2 separate regions of the Homo sapiens genome follow, and region 2 is linked to region 1. Evidence: promoter capture Hi-C in 16 types of primary human blood cells and fetal thymus (Javierre and others, 2016). All regions are on one chromosome and are shown on one strand. The core of a region is centred on a gene start or on the middle of the fragment in contact, and the rest is flanking DNA. Distances in the headings are between cores, read along the strand shown.

Evidence for each region. The method cuts DNA at HindIII sites, captures the fragments that hold promoters and counts their contacts. A CHiCAGO score of 5 or more calls a contact.
Region 2: a contact is called between a fragment that was not itself captured here and the fragment with the promoter of LINC02907 in region 1, in 1 of 17 cell types (endothelial precursors). The highest score is 5.2, in endothelial precursors.

What each region holds. Positions count from the first base shown.
Region 1 is chr9:135,341,549-135,348,372 of GRCh38, reverse strand. LINC02907 (long intergenic non-protein coding RNA 2907) reads right to left here and starts at 5,124. Exons shown (of 3, transcript NR_171012.1): 1 at 4,902-5,124; 2 at 3,920-4,351; 3 at 1,811-3,079. RefSeq lists an enhancer at 5,371-6,083. The HindIII fragment of the contact is 15,144 bases long and covers 1,989-6,824 here.
Region 2 is chr9:135,067,952-135,074,490 of GRCh38, reverse strand. No RefSeq gene overlaps it. Among named protein-coding and RNA genes, the nearest start is that of OLFM1, 16 kb to the left of the region's middle. RefSeq lists an enhancer at 3,699-4,596. The HindIII fragment of the contact is 4,807 bases long and covers 1,936-6,539 here.

The sequences.
Region 1 (6,824 bases), core at 3,875-6,374:
GGAGAGTCTCTAGGATGGAGCTGTCCCACCGTGAGACGCTCGCTGGTGGCCTGGGCTGGGGGCTGGTGAGGACCAGCCGGGGCCAGGGCGCTAGGATCCCATGACAACCGGGGCGGGGCTCACACACTGGAACCCAGGTCCTGTCCTTGCCGGACGCTCGCTCAGCTTGGGGGGGGCACAGAGATTTGAGAAGCTCACCTCATTCTACCCGATCTTAACCTCACCAAGCCCAGGGCCTCCATGAAAGGAGGATCTCCAAAGACCATTGTCTTTCCTTTAGTCATTCAACAAACATGTATTGCGTGTCTATCTGGTGCAGGACCCAAACTACTTGCCTACATGGAGCAGACATTCTAGTGCGGAGGGAAGGGTGGCGGGAAGTAAATACACTAAAGGGGAAGATAAGGGGACGCGGTGACAGGCAAGAGTGTAAGACACGGTGATGTGTACGAGTCCCGTCTGCTGGCTGGGGGCTGCTACTTCCAAGTGCAGGGGCTCAGGTGTCTTTGTCAAGGGGTGACGTTTGGGTTGACACTCGAACAGCAAGAAGACGTCAGGAGAAAGCATTCCCAGCAGAGCAGAAGCCAGGCCGAAGGCTAGCCCCCTTCCCTGCCTCTCTTTCTCGTAAGGAATCAAGGAGGCCTTCAGGAGCCGGGAGGCATTGCCTGGCAGTGAGCAAGCGCCTGATGCCTTCCTGAGTCACAACTCTTCAGAGCTGGCTTGAGGAACTCGGCCTGGAAGCAGCCGTGTACTCATGGACCCCTGTCGTGCTCTGCTGTCCTGTCCTGCGCTCTGAATACTCTCCGGATACTCTCCCAGCCATTTCTCACTGAACAGTGAGATAGGAGAACCGTGCACCTTGGTGGGCGGGTCTGGCCCACAGAGGGGTGTGTTCCTTCACTGAGTGACAGGGTCTGCAGAGTGCCAGGGTGTGCTTGCCGGGTGCTGGGGCAGGGACACAACAGTGCGCTCACCGGGCAGCCCACCAGGAGACGGGCATTACCACCCTACTCCCCAAACTGCGAGTCCCGGAGCATCTGACTGATTCCAGGGTCAGGAGCCCCACCCGGGGGAAGTGACTGTGGCTGAGATCTTGGGGATGGGCTGACCCCCTGGGGGAGGAGTTCTGGGCACAGGGAACACGGAAGCCGTGTCTGACTGTGGGAGTGGGTACAGTAAACATGGAATAAAGGACCCAAGGGGCTGAGGCCAGGACCTGGGGGCAAGACCGGTGGGGTTGGCAGAGGACAGCACATCCTGAGAAGAGTGCCAGCCTCCGACGACTTCCAGCAGGACAGTGGCACCATGAAGCATGTATGGTGACACATTCTCTCTGTGTGGAGGGTGCATTGGAGCAGGTGGGATGGGAGGGGGCAGCTGGGCCTAGGGGTGCCGGGGGGCTGGATGGCAGCTGGAGGAGGGTGAAGTCTGGACTCGCTGGGTCTTTGGGAGGAGGAGGCAGAGCCCCGGCCCAGAGCCTGCAGGGCGGCCTGAGAGCATTCTCCTCGGGCAGGTGGGAGCTGAAGCCGGGTGTGACAGGTTGGCCTGAGGGTGAGGCCAGAGGAGGAGGTGCCAGGGAGGCCCCAGGGCCACCAGGGGCATCATCCAAGCCCAGACCTGAGTGTGCTTCTTGAAGGGAGTGGCCAGTGGTGACCCCAGGGCTGCAGAGGCGTGGGACGAGACTGGTCCCTGGCCCAGGAGGAGCTGCTGGGGGTGGAGGCGCTCCGGGCCTGGGCGCCAGATTGGAGTGGGCCGTGGAGCTGGTGGGAGGGGAGAAACGGGGACAGCGGGTACCGCCAATTCTCCTGAGTTTTTTCATCTTTCTCTTTTATTTAACACAATCAGTGAAAGGCGTGTTCTAGAATACCAGCCTTAGTCCTCAGACATGTTAATATGAGGCCAACTTGTAATGGGGGAGCAAACATGGCCCCTGGCCTGAATGCAGGCAGCAAAGTCCATTTCCAGGCAGCGTCGACCTCAGGGAAGCTTCCAAGCCCAGTTGCTGGCTGTGTGGTTGGCGCCGAAAGCTGGGGTGCGCTGTGTTCTCAGGGGTGTCGGCACTGCTGCAGGCACACCTGGGACCTGCTCTTGAAGCCACCCCACAAGGAGCAAGGCAGCCCACGGATGCCCAAAGTGCAGCTCGGAACAGAGCCAGCAGGCTCGACTCCATGCATGCTGTTTGATCTGCAAAAAGTGGAGAAGGAGCAGGCGCGGAGCGGGTAGAGAGGGAGGGAGATTTTTTTCTCTTTTATGGCAGAAACCTGAAAGTGTTGGCTGGCAGGGGAGGGGGAGCGAAGGTGCGAGTTCCTGGAGAAGACAGCGCACCAGCTTCGTGCACAGACCATGACAGGCCCTCCTGCTGGTGGGCGCCCACACTGTCGCCCACAGCCCTCCTGCAGGCGCCTTGGAGCGGGTCCCTGGCAGTGGGCAGGGCTGGCCCGCCCCTGCAGAGTGAAGGATAGCCCGGGTTTGGGAACCATGTGTGAGGGTTGGAGATGTCTCTGGGGCCTGTGATCTGCTCCGGGTTGGGTTGGGCTGGGCTGTAGTTGAGGGGCTTTGGGGGACACTGGTCCTCACAGGCTCAAACTAATGTCCACCATGCAGGGTGGTGGCCCTCCCTCTGGAGCTGCTCAGACATTCACATGTGTGTGCACATAGCCAGGCACATACAGGCATACGCACACATGTGCAGAAATGCACATACGTATGCATATCCATGCATGCATATATATAGACACAGACCCGGGCACACAGGCACACACATGCACAAATGCATCACATGCAGAGAGACTCAGGGGCATGCGCACACACACATACCCAGAGCTGCACATGCAGGCACACACACACATATGCCCACAAGTACACTTGTTTGTGTGAAGCACAGACATCCACACGCAGGCATATGTATGCATGCACACACACCTACATGTGCAGACCCTCTAGCCTGAGAAGCCCAGGTCTTCCAGGCAGATGGTTGTGTGAGTTTCTCTCTCCCAGGACCAGGCAGACGCAGCATAGAAGCCCTGATCCGTCTGTTCCTAACCCAGCAAGTGACACACAATAGCCTCTCTGTGTGGCCCTGAGTGGAGATGAGATTCAAAAAGAAAAAAGCAGCTTTCAACTTCCTCTACGTGAAAGGTCATCGCCCCCTCCCCACGTGGGGGTGTCAGGCGATGAGGGAGCCTGGGAGCCCAAGCAGGCTCTCGACAGACAGCTGTCTCTCGCATGTGATGGTGCCGCCGTCTTTCTCACCAGCAGCACGACGCTGCAGGCTCTAGGGGCTGTGGGTAGAGACAGACGGCCTGTGCCCTTTACATCCTTCCAGCCAAGCCCGCTGCTGTACTCCAGATGCGGGCCTTGTTTGCCCTCCCCGCGTATCTCTGAGGTCCCCACGAATTGCTGTGTGGCATGAATGTGAGATCCCTGCCATGGTATCCAAAAGGCAAGCCTCTACTTACAGGAGGGATGAAGGCCCTGAGGGGTGGTGGGTGTCCCATCCCCCTGAGAGTTGGGGGTGCAGAGGGCCCCTCTGCACCTGACCTGCCACCTGGTGGTCACTGTGGTGAGAAAGGGGTCCTGGGACTTCAGGCCTGGGGTTTTGGGGTGAAGATGTCTTGTCTAGAGGCACCAGCTGCCCACAGCCCTGCAGCCACCCTGGCCGAGAGCAGATGATCCAGCGAGTCCTCAGGGGAACATTATCCTCTTTGCAAAATAACTGTGGAATTAGAGCTTGATGTGGGCTTAGCGGGTGCCCTGCAGTGTCTCAGTTCATTCCTACCCAGCAAAGTGGCTGACGTGAGAGCGGGGTCTGCACCGACAGCAGGACCTCCCTGTTCACCTGCTCCCGAGACCACCAGGGAGCCATGCTGTGGCTGTGGCTGAGGCTGAGGGTGGGGCAAGAACCCAAATGCACACAAACCTGCATCATCCGTCCAGCACTGGATCCCAGGGTCTCTCTAGACATTTTAAAAGATCTTTAAAAACAGGGAAGAAAGAAACCAACCCCATTGGGGCGGTGGCGGCTCCCTTAAACTTTCAGCGACTGCCATGAGAACAGAGATTTCGGTGGCTCCAAAGAACACAGGCTTATATTCCTTTGCTTTTCTTGAGGTTCTTATGCCGGAAAGATGCAGGTGTTGCCTGCCCTCTTGCCCTGTGAGGCTGTTCCTCAGCCGCCAGCCCAGGACTGGGCGTCCGGCCGTTCTGTCCACGCTGCAGCCCTGCTGTCCGCTAGATGGCGCTGCGTCATGCCCGTGGCGGGCCTGTCTGGAACCCAGGAAGGCCTGGCGGAGTTCCAGGAGGGTCTCTGGAGACCCAGGCGTCAGCACAGTGGCGGGGACGAGTCCCCTCCCTGGAGGGTGTGAGATCCCCTCATTGCCGGGCTCTGGGCACCCAGAGCACAGATTTTGTTCGCTCACTGCTGGAGAAGCATAGCCTGCCTGGGAAATGCCCCCTCCCCTCTGTGGAGCCGGGAGGTATGCATGCAGGCATGTGTGTGTGTACACGTGTGTGCACACGCCTGTGCCTGTGTGTGCCTTGTGCATTCTGTGCAAGGATGTGTGTGCATGCGCATGCATGCATGCACACACCTGCACACACTCCTGTGGCCGTGTGCTCTTGTGCATATGTGGGGGTTCTGTGTGTGTGTCTGGGGACAGGGAGGTATAGGAGGCAGCTCCCTTTAGCCCATTGGAGGCTAGCCCTGTGTATGTGCTGGACTCCAAGATGACAAAGACCTGCCCAGGTCTCAGCCTCAGCCTGTAACTGCTCTGAGCCTCCATTTACTCATCTGTAAAATTGAGATGCCCCAGTTACCTCCCAGGTGTGATGAGGCCCCATGGAGACCATGGGGCGAGAGGGCCCTCCCCACAGGCATGACGCAAAGTGACATCGATACACACCTGTGTTGTGGTCACGCACCTCCAGCAGCGGCCACAGGAAGGACACTGAGGTCTGCCCTGGGCTGAGGCCCATGGCATCCTGTTCATCATGGGGGTGCCACGGAATCCCCCATCCCACAGGGGAGGAGACGCAAGCTGAGAGGCGAAGCCACAAGCCTGACTCTGAGCCCAGGCTGTCGTCCCGGGCCGCGGTGCCCACACTGCCACTCAGCCCTGGCTGGAGATGCAGTGCTGAGGTGGGCAGGTGGCTCCACCAGCCCCATGAGGCTCAGTGGGACCTGGTGGAGGGTGGCACTGGCCTTGGAGAAGACTTGAGCCCAGCCTCTCTGTGCTGGCAGCTGGGAATGCTGAGAGGCAGGAGGAAGCTGGGGGGCACTTCCTGAGCCCCCACTGCATGGGGACAAAACCCAGGGATCCCTCCCCAGGCAGAGACCCCACCGGGCTCGATCACCAGACTTCTGGCTGTCAGCTGGCACAGAGGCCCAGCAGGGACAACCCCGGAGGAGGGGAATGTGTCATTGGGAGCCTGGGCAGCCATCAACTAGTCCTGGCCTAAACGTGGAGCACCTGGTGCCCGGCCCTTTGGCAGGGCCTTCCTTGGGGACAGAGGTGACTGCTGGTGCCTGGACCCAGGAAGCTCCCCCATCTCCCCAGGCCACCAGAGGCCCCGAGTCACTCCCGGGTGAAAACACAAATCCAGGCTGGGGCAGCTGACAGGTGGTTCCCAGGGAGGAACTGAGGGGTTGAGGGGCAGGAGAGGTGGGAGCTGGACACAGTGACTTCTGGGGCATCAGGCCTCGGCCATCTCCGAAGGAGGGCTCCCGGGAGGTGCACGTGGACAAGATTTCTGGACGAGATCAGGCTGCTTACCCGTCTGCCAAGGCCCTGCAGCTTGGGTGTCTTTGCGAACCTGTCAGTAATTGGGGTTGTGTCCAACAGCCTGTGCCAGGCTCCTTGGCGGGGCAGTCCTTGCAGCAGTCCTTGAAGGTCACCTCGAGAGCCAAGGCTGGGCAAAGCGATGGATCCATCAGGTGCAGGGGGAATGGTGTCTGGGGCCCACAAAGGTCACGATGTGGCCCCGCAGGTGCCAATGAGGGAGCCAGGGTCCAGCCACCTGTGCTTGCCAGCTGGGTGCCCTGGTACCAGGGGACGAGCTCCTTCTTGGTTTGCACAAAGGCTGGTGGGCCCCGTCCAGGAGCTGCTGCCCAACAGTGTGCTCTCGGATCCCTAGGACACGGGGGCCCCAGCTGCATGCTGTGCTCAGCCCCATCGGACACTGGGAGCCCCCTTCTATGGAACCAGAGCTCCCGAGGGGATGCTAGAAAAGTGTGGAGCTCTTTTCCTGGGCGCTGAGCCCCCTGTCCATGGTAGGAAAGAGGACAGTATTAGTGATGGGGATGCAGGGACACCTGTGGCTTCAGAGCATCAGCTTGGAGTGTCTGATTTAGTCATGAGACAGCCTCACCTGGGGAGAACTTTCTTCCCATTTTACAGAGGGGTAAATAGAGGCTGCTGTGGCGCCCTGCCCAGGAGCCCTGGCTGCTTCGAGGCTGAGGAAAGCAGGGAGGTGAGCAGCTCGGGGCCTGCCCTGCAGGTGCACCCGGACCCTGGGTGGGCCCTGCCACCCCGCACGCCTTCCCCAGAGCCCTCTGAGCCTTGGCCGGTGGGCGGACGGAGAAGGTTCTGAGGGGAGGAGTCTGGAAAGAGGGAGGGGCTTTGTGAGGGACCACAGGGGAAGTGGGGCTGAGCCTCTGCTGTCCTCAGCCTCTGCTGTCCTCAGCTGGGTCTCCCACCAGGTCCCTTCCACCCGCTGTGGCCTTGGCGTCCTTCTTGCTTGGGCCCCATGGGTCAGCTGTGGGTGCCTGGACACCCATAAGTGGCCATCCTGCCTGGGTCCCTGGACCTCTTGCCACCTCTCCCATC
Region 2 (6,539 bases), core at 3,090-5,589, 270 kb after region 1:
GCCAGGACCACAGGGCCCCTTACAGGCAGGTGCGTATCCACCCCCAGGACTCCCTTGGCTCCGCCCTTCCTGGTGCCCTCCTCCCCTTTCCTCCCTCTCTATGTCCCCTCTCCCTCCACCCTCCTTTAATGTGTACTCAGACCCGTTGACTAAAGGAGCTGTCTTGGGGCCCACGTTTTCCATTTAAATTCCTGATTTTGTGGAAGAGTCCCAAGCACCTGTATTTTCTGAGAAGCTAAGGTTGCAGTAGGTATCTAGAAGCCTCTCTCTGTTCTCTATTGTTTAGTCTTTAGTCTATGGAAAATAAACTCCCTAAAGAGAATCTCTGACAAGAAGAGACTCCAGACTCAATAATTGCAGAGAGCAGCACTGCCCAGGATGATGTGGCCCGGCCCCCTGTGTCACAGATGAGGCCGCTGGAGTTCAGGGGAGTCACGTACCGGGGTCACCCAGGGATATCCAGAACAAGGACAATGCCACCTCCTGCCCCTGTCACCATGCTGCTGGCATCTGGGAGGCATCCCCTGGGCATTGGGTGCAGGAGCTGGGCACATGTGCTGAAGAAGAGAAGATGGGAAGGGGCCCTCCGACACGGCCGTTGCACCCTGAGGGCCTTTGCTGTGGGGACTCTGTTCTCTGAGTGCTGGGGACAGAGCTCCCTCCAGGGAAGCCAGAGGGCCCGCCTGTTGGTCTGGGTGGGCTTCCCAGCCTCAGACGAGTTTAAGCAGTGGCATTCCTGGTGATATGCCACGGCCCCTGAGGCAGGGTGGCCCCCAAGACTCTGTGAGGAGATGGTGCTGGGAAGAAATTGGGGGGGGGGTGCAGCTGTGGAGGCTTCTTTTCTCTCTGCCCCCCTCATGTTACTACCCCCAGTGTCTTTGTTGTCCTAGAATGGAGGAAAGCTGTTTGTAAGCCCCTTGGGGATCGTTGAGAGAGGCAGCCAGGGGCCGGAGTGGACCCTGTGTTTGGAGCTGAAGGGATCTCCGGGTAGTGGCTGTCTGAGCCTCAGTCCCCACATCTGTCGAATGGGAATGAATGGTCCATATACTGCAGGTCTCGGGGCTACTGAGGAGATCCAGTGCAGGAATAAACACACTCTATATGCTTAAGAACTCTACGTGCATGGGGCACGCGCAGCACCCCAGGCCTCGACCCAAGTTTCTCCTTCAGCCTTCACATTGATGCTCCAAGTGGCCGCTAATAAATGTCTGGGCTCTGGGAGACCTGTGACATGGCCATAGAGCTGGAGTGCGACCCCCGTCTTTGGGGTTTTGTTCCTGTGGGCTGGGGAGGAAGGCTGCATTGATTTCCTTGAGTGGACTGAGGCCTCAGATCCAATTTTAGCAAGGATGGTTTTTATTTTTAAAGTTACACACCAGGTGACCCAGCAATTCCACTTCTGAGTACACACCCAAGGGAAGAGAAAGCAGGGACTGGAGCGGATATGTACACGCCTACGTTCATGGCAGCATTATTCATAACAGCCAAAAAGTGGGAACAGACAGGGCGTGGTGTCTCACGCTTGTAATCCCAGCACTTTGGGAGGCCGAGGCGGGTGGATCACCTGAGGTCAGTACTTTGAGACCAGCCAGGCCAACATGGTGAAACCCAGTATCTACTAAAAATACGAAAATTAGCCAGGTGTGGTGATGGGCACCTGTAGTCCCGCCTAGTCAGGAGGCTGAGGCAGGAGAATCGCTTGAACCAGGGAGGCGGAGGTTGCAGTGAGCCGAGATCACGCCATTGCACTCCAGCCTGGGGGACAGAACGAGACACCATCTTAATAAAACAAATAAGCAAACAAACAAAAAAGTGGGAACAACCCCTGTGTCCATCAACAGATGCATCAACAGACAGATGTGCTCCATCCAATGAACTGTTACCAGCGATGAAGAGAAGGGAAATTCCAACACATGCTACAACACAGATGAAGCTTGAAGACATTATCCTCAGCAAAATAAGCCGGTCACTGACGGACAAGTACTGCAGGATTCTGCTTTTATGGGGTCCCTAGAGTAGTCACATTCACAGAGCTGGGAAGTAGATTAGTGGTTACCAGGGGCTAAGGGGAAGGAGGTTGGGACATGATTGGTGAGTGGGTACAAGTTTAAGCCTGGAATAATGACAAAGTTTTGGAAGTCGACAGTGGTGACGGTGGCACAATATGGTGAATGTCATCAGTGCCACAAACTTGTGCACTTCATGGGTAAAATGGTAAATTTTATGTTATGCATATGTAACCACAGTTTTAAAAATATAGTAATATAATATACCAAAACCATTGAATTGTACACCTTAAGTGAGTGAATTGTATGGTATGTAAAACATATATATATATATATTTTTTTTTTTTTTTTTTTTTTTGAGACGGAGTCTCGCTCTGTCGCCCAGGCTGGAGTGCAGTGGATCGATCTCAGCTCACTGCAAGCTCCGCCTCCCAGGTTCATGCCATTCTCCAGCCTCAGCCCCCCGAGTAGTTGGGACTACAGGCGCCCGCCACCACGCCCAGCTAATTTTTTGTATTTTTAGTAGAGACGGGGTTTCGCCATGTTAGCCAGGATGGTCTCGATCTCCTGACCTCGTGATCCGCCCGCCTCGGCCTCCCAAAGTGCTGGGATTACAGGCATGAGCCACCACCTGTAAACTATATCTTAATAAAGCTGTTTTTTTTTTAAAAAAAAATACAGACTTATTATTGTATTTCTTTAAAAAGATAAAATACAAAGAAGAATGTAAAAGTAACGAAAGCCCCCTACCCAGAATAGCCAGTGTTGACCATGGGGCTGCTCTGCAGGCATTCCTCTGTGCACGTGATCAGGAAATGCAAAATGTGCAAACGTAAGAGGGTGGCCTCTAAGACCAAATGGCCTGGGTGCCAAGCCAGAGCCCCCCTCTTGGGAGCTGTTGAGGCCCTGGGCCAGTCACCCTCTCCGGGCCCCATTTATCTCCCTGGGGGTGGATTGATGATGGCAGCCCCACCTCAGTGCCCAGCTGAGTGGCGTCAGGGAGCCACAGCCGTGCCAAATATTTAGAACTGTGCCTGGCACGTGGCAATGGCTAGAAAGAAATAGGAAGGATGGGCAAATGCTGGTGTAAAAGATGACATCATCCTTCCCAGGCTTTGCAGCCCAGAAATATTAGATTGAACTGCAACGTAAAGAAGGAAGGGGAACAAAGTCAAGCCGAAGATGCTGCTGACTTCAAGCGCGTTTATCTTCACCATGCGAGGCATTGTTTCCTAGAAGAACCTTCTAAGATTGAGAAGGAAAAGTCTATGAAGACCGTTAACTGTTTGGAATTAGACATTCTCTATCCCGTGGTCCCGTTTTTGACAATAACGCCCACTTCCTCTTTTGAAAGCCTGGGTAATATTCAGCTCCTCTTTCTCTGGCCACCCTGTCCCTCCTCTCAATCTGTACTGCTTGTATTATTTGTATCTTGTCCGTACTTTTAATATTTATATTTGCTTCTGCAACCCAAGCTCCTAGCTCTTTGGCTCTAGTTCTGGATTTTGGGGAATCTGGCATCCACTCGGGCCCCTCGAGGAGGTTGCTCCGAGTTCTTCATTGTGTCCACCCCTTTGGGGTTGGCTGAGGTTCAGGTAGAGGGAGGCCACAGCCCGTGACACCAACACACCTCACTGCTGACAGATTTAGATGCTTGTCTTTTCCTCATCCCATGGCGTTCCTGTCTGCAAAATCAGGAAGCTCCCTAGAGCAGAGGCTCCATGTAGAGGTGGGTGTGGGGCCTGGGTCCCAAAGCTCCAGTCGGTCTGGGGCAGCTGCCCACCTCCTCCACCCCAGCTCTGAGATCCTGAGCTACCTTGGGATGAGGCCAAGTGGGTACCCAGCATCAGCCCGCCTCACTCTTTGGTGGGTACCGTGGGTCCTGGGACACCCCCACCCGCCCCTCTTCTGCTGCCTTCCTGATGGAGCTTGGGCAGCAGGCACCCAGGAAGCAGCCGCTTTCCCGCTGAGCTGCCTCAGGACACCAGCAAATCGATCTGCTTTGTGCTCCTCTAAGACAAGCCTCCTTCTACTGCTGAGCCCCATTAGAATGTGACAGAGCGTTGCCAAGGCAACGGCACTAACTCTCCCCTCCTCTCTGCGAATTTCCTAGCAAATGGGACCCAAAATCCACGCGATCGGCTCCCTGTGCCCTGAGCCTTCAGGCTGCCGGCTTCACCCTCTCCAAATCCAGCTGAGCCGAGCGAGCACCCAGATGGCCTCCCTGGCCCCTGGGGACACCGGCCTGGGGCGGTGGTGAATAGGCTCACAGAGGACCCAGGCTGCCCCTCCTTATCAGCTCCCTGGACTTGTGCACGGCAACCAGCTGCTTCTGTTTGGAAGCCGTCAAGCAAGGAAAGGGTGGCCAGCTCTGCTTCTGGGACCACCTGGGTGGTTTGGAGTTCTCAGCCCCACTGTGTGTTGGGCACGCGCTGAGCTTATGCCATTCTCTCACTAAATCCTTGCAGCCTAGGAGCACATTTGATGTTCACGGGAGTCAGTCGTGCACTTGCCGGTGTTCAGCCGGGGCAGGCAGCACCAAACCCTGCTCCGTGGTCTCCCCCTCGTCACTTCCCTGCTTGTCCAGCTGTGATTCCTCCAGAAGTCTCTCCTGTGCTCTCAGTTCCCTGGCGTTGCCCATCCTCCTGTCTTCCTGGCGACACCCAACTCTCTGTCCACCCCTCCCTGCTCCCTGACAGCTGAGCAGGGCCAGGGAAATCACACCGCCTTGTGGACTGGTCCCTGTTTGAATTCATGACCTCCCAGCCCAAGGGAGTCCTGAAATCCTGTCTCTGCCTCCCCCTGCCCACAGCCCCAACTCCCTTGGAGGGGCTCTAACTCTTTCTCCCCTGCTCCTCGGCCCTCCTCCTCCCACCTCTCCCCTGCCCCTCCGTCCTCCTCCTCACACCTCTCCCCTGCCCCTTGGCCCTCCTCCTCACACCTCTCCCCTGCCCCTTGGCCCTCCTCCTCACACCTCTCCCCTGCCCCTTGGCCCTCCTCCTCACACCTCTCCCCTGCCCCTTGGCCCTCCTCCTCACACCTCTCCCCCGGCAGATGACATGATTCTCACTGCACCGAGGAAGGCCCAGCCCAACTCTCAGCTCCCATCACAAGATCCACCACCCAGACTCCTGCCTGGCCCTGCCTTGCTCCTTGCAGGAGGTGAATCATCTCTGCCCCCATGCAGGACCACCATTCCGTGGGCCCGGGAGCTTGCCCCCTCCCTGCTCTGTCTCCCCACACCTGTCCTCTCGTCGAAAACATGTTGCCGTTTTTGCCCATCTTCACCAAAGAAATGTCTTTCCTTTCATCCCCTGCAGCCACGCCCCACCTCTCTGTCCTCCTTTGCAGAGATGAATGTCCACATCCCATCTCTCCAGGCTGCTCCTCCACACAGCTCTGGGCAAGCTCACCAGCGACTTCCTCGTCATCAAACGCAACGGTGGCAATGCCAGCCTTCATCTGACTGGAGGGAACCAGCGACACCCGGCACAGACTCTCCTCCCTCTACCCTGGAAGCCTCGCTTCCTCTGGATGGTGCATGCCCCTGCCTTGCGTGCCCTCGTCCCTCCCTGGCTGCTCCTCCCCAGGCTCTGTGCTGTGCTGGGCCTCACCGCCTTCCCACTTTCTTTTCTTTCTTTTTTTTTTTTTTAGATGGAGTCTCAATCTGTCTGCAGGCTGGAATGCAGTGGCGAGATCTTGGCTCACTGCAACCTCCGCCTCCCGGGTTCAAATGATTCTCCTGCCTCAGCCTCCCAAGTAGCTGGGACTACAGGTGCATGCACCACACCCAGCTAATTTTTGTATTTTTAGTAGAGACGGGGTTTCACCATGTTGGCCAGGCTTGCACCTTCCCACCTTCTAATGGTTGGGTGTTTCAAGGCTCTGTCCTCCATGGCCCCCCGCCAGGTGCCTCCTCCAGCGCAGGACAGGAACTCCCATTGCTGTGCTCCCCTCACTTACATCTCAGCATAGCCTCTTCTCTGAATTCCCAGCTCATACTGCACCACCTGACAGTGTCCCTTGGTATCTAACGTGCTTGTGCACCTGGCGAGTCTGCAGCACGGCTCTTTGTAGCCTACCCCAGACCCAGCCAGCTCCTGCCCCACCTTCCCAGTCCAGGGAACAGCAGTTCCGCCCTTCCTGTTGCCCAGGCCCAAATTCCAGGAGCTATGCCGGGCAACCCGCTTCCTTTTAAATCTCACATCCAACTCACCCGCAAGTCTTTCGGGCCAACCTGAATTATCCAGCACCGCCCCACACAGTCATCAACCACTCAACTGCATCCTCCAGTCTCCCTGCCGCCTCCCTAACCCTGCGGCCAGGGTGGATTTACAGAATCTTCCCTGAGGTCCTGACCCGGCAGAGGCTTCCCACAGGGCTGAGAGCCCTCCGTCCTCTGTCATGAGGTCCCCACCACCTCTCATATCCCACCCCCTTTCTCTCCCCTCGCTCAGTCCTGTTCGGCTGCACTGCCCTGCCCTGAGGCTGCTTGGGGACATCCCTGCTTTCCTGCCAGGAGCCTGTTGTCCC